2 separate regions of the Homo sapiens genome follow, and region 2 is linked to region 1. The links are contacts of gene promoters, found by promoter capture Hi-C in blood cells and fetal thymus (Javierre and others, 2016). All regions are on one chromosome and are shown on one strand. The core of a region is centred on a gene start or on the middle of the fragment in contact, and the rest is flanking DNA. Distances in the headings are between cores, read along the strand shown.

Region 1 (4,402 bases), core at 1,773-4,272:
TGGTCTCCAACTCCTGGCTTCAAGCGATCCTTCTGCTTCAGCCTTCTGAGTGGCGGAATTCATAGGTGTGAGCCATGAATGTTGCCCAGCAAAACGTTCCTTAATAAGTAGGTTTTATCATCCCCATGCTTCAGACTAGAACATGGGGCTTACAGAGGTATCATATCATGCAGACACATGGTGAAAAGACTAGAAGGATATATATATATATATATAGTTATAAGGCCGGGTGTGGTAGCTCATGCCTATAATCCCAGCACTTTGGGAGGCCAAGGCGGGCGGATCGCGAGGTCAGGAGTTCAAGACCAGCCTGGCCAACATAGTGAAACCTCATCTCTACAAAAAATACAAAGACTGGCAGGGCGCAGTGGCTCACACCTGTAATCTCAATACTTTGGGAGGCCGAGTGGGCGGATCACGAGGTCAAGAGATTGAGACCATCCTGGCCAACATGGTGAAACCCTGTCTCTACTAAAAATACAAAAATTAGCTGGGAGTGGTGGCACACACTTGTAGTCCCAGCTACCCAGGAGGCTGAGGCATGAGAATCACTTGAACACAGGAGGGGGAGGTTGCAGTGAGCTGAGATGGCGCCATTGCACTCCAGCCTGGCGACAGAGTGAGACTCCATCTCAAAAAAAAAAAAAAAAAAAAAAAAAAAAAAAAGCTGGGCATGGTGGCGTGTGCCTGTAGTCCCAGCTACTCGGGAGGCTGAGGCAGGAGAATCGCTTGAACCTGGGAGGTAGAGGTTATGGTGAGCCAAGATCGCGCCATTGCACTCCAGCCTGGGCAACGGAGCAAGACTCCGTGTCAAAAAAAAAAAAAAAAAAAAAGATGTTATGTGATTTTCTTAATTTTCCTAAAATTTTTTTCCTTCCTTCCTTCCTTTCTCTCTCTCTCTCTCTCTCTCTCTCTCTCTCTCTCTCTCTCTCTCTCTTTCTTTTATTGAGACGGAGTCTCGCCTCGCTTTGTCACCCAGGCTGGAGTGCAATGGCCCAATGTCCGCCAACTGCCACCTTTGCCACCCTAGGTCAAGCGGTTCTTGTGCCTCAGCCTCCCAAGTAGCTGGGACTGCAGGTGTGTGCCACACCTGGCTAATTTTTTTTGTATTTTTAGTAGAGACAGGGTTTTGCCATGTTGATCAGGCTGGTCTCAAACTCCTGACCTCAGGTGATCCACCCACCTCGGCCTCCCAAAGTGCTGGTATTGCAGGCGTGAGCCACTGAGCCCGGCCTCCTAAAATGTTTTAAGTACAAACGAATTAATTTTTTAAAACCATGATTATGGGTCCTTCAGTTCAAGGTCACTGAGAAAGTGGGAGTCAGGATTGGAACCCATTACTGGACAACTTCCAGTGTATGTGGAATTTTCTGGACTCTCTTCCAGTGACCCCAGTCTTCCGCCTTTATTGTCCTTCCAGTTTCAGGGCTCCTCTCACTCCAGGCTGGGCCTCCACCTCCAGCTGTGGCCCTCATCCCGGAGACTAGGACAGAGCAGAGGAGGGCTTCATAGTGATGGGCCCCCAGGCCTGGGCCCTTGAGTGAGGCTGGCATCAAGGTATCCTGTGGCATACCGCCCCCCCCATCCAGTTCCCTGGGCAGCCACCATTGCGTTTGTCCCTGTGTCTCCGGTATTAACACCTGGCGAGAAAGTGTTGGAAGGAGACCCACTACAAGGCAGCCTCACCAGCTGTGTGATTTGGTAATTTGGCCAGATTAAGGAAGGAAAGCGCGTTCGCCTGGAGTGTGGAATGAACGTACAGGGTGATCATTACCGTTTTCAGCGCTGCCGTCACTGTCGCCGCATGTGAGACACCCCCTCCTCCCCAAGGCCAGTGATTGCGCCAGAGCTCCTGCGCGCTGGCAAGCAGGTGACGCCGCGGGTGACGGCCAGCCAGGGCGGGGGTTGTGGGGGCGGGAGGCAAGGGGAGAAGAGGGCATGTTCCCATCGGTGAGGCGAGAACTCACCCGTGGTCCAAAGCAACGAGGGCGGGGGGCACCCTCCATCTCTACCGCACTCCCTCGGGGCACACACTGGCGCGCTCCGCGTCCTCAGGTGCTCCGAGCTTCCCCGCGTCACCCGCAGCCCAGGGCGCCCCCCGCGACGCCGCCATTCATTCCTCCTACACTGCGAGCGCACCACTCCAGAGCCGCGGGGGGCTACAGCCACCGGACTAGGGCTGGGGGTGTCTGCCCTGGTGCGCGCGCGTCGGCCCAGTTTCTATAGACCCCTCCTAGGAGAGACTGAAATACCCAGATTCAGGAGACGGAGACACTGGCACAGAGATACAGGAGTCAAGAATGGAGATAGATAGAGAAAGGCAGACACTTAAGGGACAGGCATAGACAAAGGCCATAACACAGCGAAAGAGATACGGGGCACAGAGACAGAGAGATACAGACACTTAGAGATGGACTGACACACACAAAGGCGGAGACAGAGACACAGACCGGCACTCAGAGGCGCACGGACCCTGACGATCTACTTAAGACCAGCAGAGCAACTAGTACAAGAGCGCGTCAGCGGCAAGGGCACCATCCCACTGGCCCGAGCTCTTCCCGCGCTGTGGGTTCGTGCCTTCCCCAGTCACCCTGTACCCGAGTCTCCTCCCCGCGCATTTCCCGCTCCCCGCTTTCCATTGCCAGCCCTGCGGCCGCCTTCCCGCCCCAACGCGCCCGGCCAGCTTTTGCCCTCCTGCTCCCAGTCCCCCTTGCACGCCTCTCCCAGCCTAGGGGTCAGACCCTCCTCCAAGCTCCTCCAGTACCAGGCTCGATCCCACCCCCCTTCGGTCCCGCCCCTCCCCGCGAGGTCCCGGCCGGGTTGGCTGGTACTATTCCCCAAGACCCACGTGCTGGCCATTCCCCGCCACAGTGCGGGAACCTCCCACTCCAGCTGCCTCTGTTCCCGGGGTAGCTGGGCGCGCTCCTGCCCCCGGCCCCGCCTCTTTCCCCTGGCCAGTGCCCGCCCCGCCTCCACCGCGCCCCGCCCGCCGTGCTCTGCCGCAGTCGGGCGCTCATCGTCATTCCGCTCTTGCCGCCGCCGCCGCCACCCCCGCCCCCCGCCCCCGCCCCCGCCCGGTCCCCGCCACCGCCGCCGCCGCCGCCTGCCCAGCGGCCCGGGAGGCGGAGGCGCGGGGGAGGAGGCCCCGCTTGGCTCCTCAGCCCCGGATGCTGCATGACTTCATCCTTCCGCCGGCTCCCCTGCTGAGGTAGGGCCGGTCCGGCAGCAAGCCCGCCGCCCGCGCCCCGCCGCAGTCCCGCTCCCGCCCCGCGCCCACCCCGCGCCCGCCATGTCCGAGATCCTGCCCTACAGCGAAGACAAGATGGGCCGCTTCGGCGCAGACCCCGAGGGCTCCGACCTCTCCTTCAGCTGCCGCCTGCAGGACACCAACTCCTTCTTCGCGGGCAACCAGGCCAAGCGACCCCCCAAGCTGGGCCAGATCGGCCGAGCCAAGCGAGGTACGCGGCCCGGGCCCGGAGTCGCCGCCTGACCCAGAAACCCTCCGCCGGGCGCCCCCCGGCTGCCGTTCCCCGCCGAGTGCCCGCAGCTCTTGCCGCAGACCAGCGCACCAGCCGCTCTCCAGCCCGGGCTGGAGGGGGGGGTCCCCGCTGCAGTGTGTGTCCCCCTCTTCCCTTCTCCCGGGAACACGGTGCCCCGGATTCGATGCTCGCCACCTCTGGAAGCAGAGCCCTGGCACCCGGGCGAGGGGGAGGGGCCGGTCGGGGCATTTGGGGCTGCACGGAAGTGGGAGCACGGGGTAACGGGCTGATTCTTTGGGATCAAATACTGAGTCGGTGGACAATACGAAGAACCTTCGGGTCGAGAGGGACGTCTAACAAGAGAGGGCAGGAGGCCGGGGGTCCGCTTGTCTTGGTTGTTTGCATGGGGAGGGGAGCTCTGTTGGTGCCAGGATCGGAAGAGGGGTTCCAGCGGCGAGAGGGCTCAGGTTGAGGAGAGGGCTGGACCAGCTGGATACTCGGTTTGAGCCCCATTTGAGCAGGGGGATCTGTTGAAGTGCGGGTTGAAGAGGGGGATTCCGTGAGCAAGAGGTTTCTGATCAACTCAGAGGGAGGAAGGCTCAGGTGGCAGGAGGGCTCGCACTGGGAGGGAGAATAGCTGGAGCCTTTGGAAGAGGGGCGTTCCGCCATCGGGAGGGGAGGGGGTCTAGGCTTGGCGGCGGGTTGGGTCTCCAGAAGAGTTCGGACGGGGAGGACACCGCGGCACAGGGTTCCGAGGGGCGTCGCTGGGCCACGGGCAGTAGCTGCGCGGGAAGCTAGGACGCGGGGCTCATTCTCATCGCCGCCGCCCCCCGAGGCCGCGCGGCTGACGCGCTTTCTCCCTGCGCAGTGGTGATCGAGGATGACCGGATAGACGACGTGCTGAAGGGGATGGGGGAGAAGCC
Region 2 (4,686 bases), core at 740-3,239, 150 kb after region 1:
TGATGATATGATGCAGGGGAAAATCTCACCCCTGACATTGTAGGGGGTTTGGGGAAAATAAAGGAGTGAAAAGAGGTAAGAGAGTGGAAAGAAGAATGATGGTCAGGTCTGTGCCTTTGTTTCCTCTCTTTGGGTTCCAATTGAATGATATGGACCAGTATTGAGGAAAAAGCTTGTCTCTCTTTGAGGCTTGTGTAAAGATCAGAGCTTTACAGTCCTCCGAAGGAGTCCAGCAGATAGACTTCAAATAGAAACCTGTGAACTTGGGGAAGAGCTGCCTCTAACTGTTTGCTGCTGTGGTCATTGGACAGCCTGACTGGTTCATGTTGGAAGGCAGGGGAAATTGAATGAATACGTTCAATTATTTCCATTCTCTGCACATGGGAGAGGATTGCTACTTGTTCCTGGATTGACCTGGGAATTGAGGCATGCCCTCCATGTGCTTCAGCAGAATGACAGTGTTTCATCACTGGTTCATATAAGCAGCCTGGCCCAGGCCGCCACAGTTAAGTTGGTTTGCTCTTCTTCGAAAGAACCTTACAGTGTGACCTATACAGGTACTGAGAGGACACAAAATTACGAGCAGGCAACGAAAACAACGGGGCCAGGCGCAGTGGCTCACACCTGTAATCCCAGCATTTTGGGATCCCGAGGCGGGTGGATCACTGGAGGCTAAAGTTCGAGACCAGCCTGGCCAACATGGTGAATCCCCGTCTCTACTAAAAAAATGCAAAATTAGCCAGGTGTGGTGGCACATGCCTGTAATCCCAGCTACTTGGGAGGCTGAGGCACGAGAATCGCTCGAACCCAGGAGGCGGAGGTTGCAGTGAACTGAGATCGCACCACTGCACTCCAGCCTGGGCAACAGATACTCTGTCTCAAAAGGAAAAAAAAAAAAAGCCTACTGATTGTCAATCACATATACAAAATACCTTCACAGCAACATCTAAACCAGTGTTTGACCAGACGACTGGGCGCCACAGTCTAGCCAAATTGACATTTAAAATTAACCATGTCAGGCCGGGCACAGTAGCTCACACCTGTAATCCCAGCACTTAGGGAGGTTGAGATGGGCGGATCACCTGAGAGGTCAAGAGTTCGAGACCAGCCTGGCTAACATGGTGAAACCCCTTCTCTACTAAAAATACAAAAATTAGCCAAGCACGTTGGCAGGCGCCTGTAATCCCAGCTACTTGGTTGGCTGAGGCAGGAGAATCTTTTGAACCTGGGAGAATCTTTGGAATTTTTTGAACCTCACTGGGTTGCAGTGAGCCGAGATCATGCCACTACACTCCAGCCTGAGAGACAGAGCAAGACTGCATCTCAATAAATAAAATAAAATAAAATAAAATAAAATAAAATAAAATAAATAAACCATGTCAATGACCAATATGAATATTGAGGACAAGGGCTCCTTCTGAAGTAGGATTAAGAAAGGAGAGAAGATAATTTCTAGGACATGTGATTAGAACACTTAAAAGACTTCATGAGGCTGGGCATGGTGGCTCATGCCTGTAATCCCAGCACTTTGGGAAACCGAGGTGGGTGGATCACCTGAGGTCAGCAGTTCAAGACCAGCTTGGCCAACATGGTGAAACCCCATCTCTACTAAAAATACAAAATTAGCCGGGTACGGTGGCATGCACCTGTAATCCCAGCTACTTGGGAGGCTGAGGCAGGAGAATCATTTGAACCCGGGAGGTGGAGGTTGCAGTGAGCCAAGATCGTGCCACTGCACTCCAGCCTGGGCAACAGAACAAGATTCCGTCTCAAAAAAATAAAAAAAGACTTTATGAAATTAAAAATTATTTTTAATTAAAACATTCAGTAGATGAGCTGAGAATAGAAATGGTCACTCCTGAAAACTGAATTGTTGTCTGAAAGATTGGTCACAACACAAAGCCAAGCCACAAAAAATGGAAGCTGGAAGAGAAAAAGACAGTTTAGAAAACAGATCCATAGGACCTAACTTGTGAATAGCACAAATGCCTGAACAGCGCTGGGTACGGTGGCTCATGTCTGTAATCCCAGCACTTTGGGAGGCCGAGGCGGGTAGATCACGAGGTCAAGAGATCAAGACCATCCTGGCCAACATGGTGAAACCCCATCTCTACTAAAAATACAAAAATTAGACGGGCATGGTGGCGTGCGCCTGTAGTCCCAGCTACTTGGGAGGCTGAGGCAGGAGAATCGCTTGAACCGAGGAGGTGGAGGTTGCAGTGAGCTGAGATCACGCCATTGTACTCCAGCCTGGTGACAGAGCGAGACTCCATCTCAAAAAAAAAAAAAAAAGAAAAAAAAAAAGAAATGCCTGAACAGAAAAAGAACAGATGGAAGAGAGTAAGTAGAGTGTTACTTATATCCTAGAAAAAATTCCCCAAACAGAAGAAAGATTTAAATATTCACATTGAAAAAGGTCACTGAGACACAGAAAGGATTAGTGAAAACACACATTTGACATAACCTAGTGAAATTCAAGCGTCTGTAATCGCCAATGGGGTCACCTTGCCTGCTGCCTAGACAGAGCCAACTCATCAAGACAGGGAAATTGCAATAGAGGAAGAGTAATTCATGCAGAGCCTGCTGTGCGGGACACTGGAATTTTATCAGCCTCCCTGAGCATTCGGGGATCAGAGTTTTTAAGGACAACTTGGTGGGTTGGGGGAAGCCAGTGAGCCAGGAGTGCCGATTGGTCAGATCAGAGATGAAATCATGTGAAGTTGAAGCTGTCCTCTTGTGCTGAGTCAGTTCCTGGGTCGGGGCCACAAGATCAGATGAGTCAGTTTATCGATCTTGGTGGCCAGCTGATTCATTAAGTGCAGGGTCTGCAAAATACCTTAAGCACTGATCTTAGGAGCAGTTTAGGGAGGGTCAGAATTTTGTAGCCTCCACCTGCATGACTCCTAAACCATAATTTCTAATCTTGTGGCTAGTTCGTTAGTCCTATAAAGGCAGTCTAGTCCCCAGGCAAGAAGGAGGTTTGTTTTGGGAAAGGGCTGTTATCGTTTTTATTTTATTTTATTTTATTTTATTTATTTTTTAATTTTAATTTTTTTAAAATTTTTGTTTATTTATTTATTTTTGAGACGGAGTCTCCCTCTATTGCCCAGGCTGGAGTGCAGTGGCACAATCTTGGCTCACTGCAACCTCTGCCTCCTGGGTTCAAGTGATTCTCCTGCCTCAGCCTCCCAAGTAGCTGGGACCACAGGTATGTGCCACCATGCCCCGCTAGCTTTTGTATTTTTAGTACAGATGGAGTTTCACCATATTGGCCAGGCTGGTCTATTATTTTTATTTTTATACAGGCATGAAACGCTGTGCCCAGACCATACTGTACCTTTTGATATTTGTACCTTGTATGTATATTACTCTTCCAAAAATGAATCAAGAATTAATGAAAGAGATGTGCGAAAATATACTAGGCAAAAGCAAGATTTGCAACACTATCCTACAAATGGAAATCATGTTCAAAACACATTGAACAGAACAAATAGTGACAATATATGAGGATAAAATCAGGCACAATTCAAGAAGATATAATAACCATACATTTTTATGCATCAAATCACATAGCTGTCAAGCATATAAAAGGAAAACTACAAGTACCCAGAGAACATGGATAAAATACTTTTGAACTTTAACAGACCACACAGACAAAAATAAGCTATGATATAGAGGATTTGAATAATGTAATAAATAAGCTCTATTTAGTAGATGCATATAGAGAGAATATATACTTTTTTTAAAAAAAAGAACACCTAAGAACACAAATATATACTTTTTAAATGTCCTGAAACAAAGCTTGTTACAGAACCAATCATGCATTCAGCCAGAGAAAAAGCTTTTTTTTTTTTTTTTTTGGGACAGAGTCTCCCTCTGTCTTCCAGGCTGGAGTACAGTGGTGTGATCTTGGCTGACTGCAACCTCCACCTCCTGGGTTCAAGTGATTCTTCTGCCTCAGCCTCCTGAGTAGCTGGGACTACAGGCATGCGCCACCACGCCCAGCTAATTTTTGTATTTTTAGTAGAGACGGGGTTTCACCGTATTGGCCTGGCTGATCTCGAACTCCTGATCTCGTGATCCACCCGCCTTGGCCTCCCAAAGTGCTGGGATTACAGGCATGAGCCACTGCGCCTGGCCAAGAAAGCTTTATAAATCCAAAAAGGTTTAAATTTATACACCATGCTCTCTGATCATAAACCAAGAAACTAGAAATTAACAATGAAAGGATAACAATAACAAAAATCCCTTATCCATAGATATGAAGACACATTCTCCCAAATAGCCTTTATTTCTATTTTTATTTTTTTTGAGACAGGGCCTTGCTTTGTCGCTTAGGCTGGAGTGCAGTGCAACAATCAGAACTCACTGTAGCCTTGATCTCCTGGACTCAAGCAATCCTCCCACTGCAGCCTCCTGCACAGTGGGACTGCAGATGTGTGCCATACATGCCTGGCTAATTTTTTTTTTTTCGTAGAGATGGGGTCTCGCTATGTTGCCCAGGCTGGTCTTGAACTCCTGAGCTCACACAATCCTCCCACCTCAGCCTCCCAAGCTATTGGGATTATAGGCATAAGCCATTGCATCTGGCCCCAAATAGCCTTTATATCAGAGAGAATTAAAACAAATTATGAATTGTCTACAAAGTAATGAAGAGGAGATCACCTTATTCTAAAACCTATGGGA

The links. Contacts are between HindIII fragments. The CHiCAGO score rates a contact against its expected background, and 5 or more counts as called.
Region 2: a contact is called between a fragment that was not itself captured here and the fragment with the promoter of CAMK2N2 in region 1, in 1 of 17 cell types (M1 macrophages). The highest score is 5.3, in M1 macrophages.

What each region holds. Positions count from the first base shown.
Region 1 is chr3:184,260,173-184,264,574 of GRCh38, reverse strand. It overlaps CAMK2N2 (calcium/calmodulin dependent protein kinase II inhibitor 2), which reads left to right and starts at 3,022. Exons shown (of 2, transcript NM_033259.3): 1 at 3,022-3,458; 2 at 4,348-4,402. The coding sequence starts at 3,290. All of the region lies in intron 2 of EEF1AKMT4-ECE2 (EEF1AKMT4-ECE2 readthrough), which reads right to left. RefSeq lists enhancers at 1,168-1,930, 3,816-4,367, 4,368-4,402. The HindIII fragment of the contact is 12,942 bases long and covers 1-4,402 here.
Region 2 is chr3:184,108,499-184,113,184 of GRCh38, reverse strand. No RefSeq gene overlaps it. Among named protein-coding and RNA genes, the nearest start is that of HTR3E-AS1, 5.7 kb to the right of the region's middle. The HindIII fragment of the contact is 3,629 bases long and covers 175-3,803 here.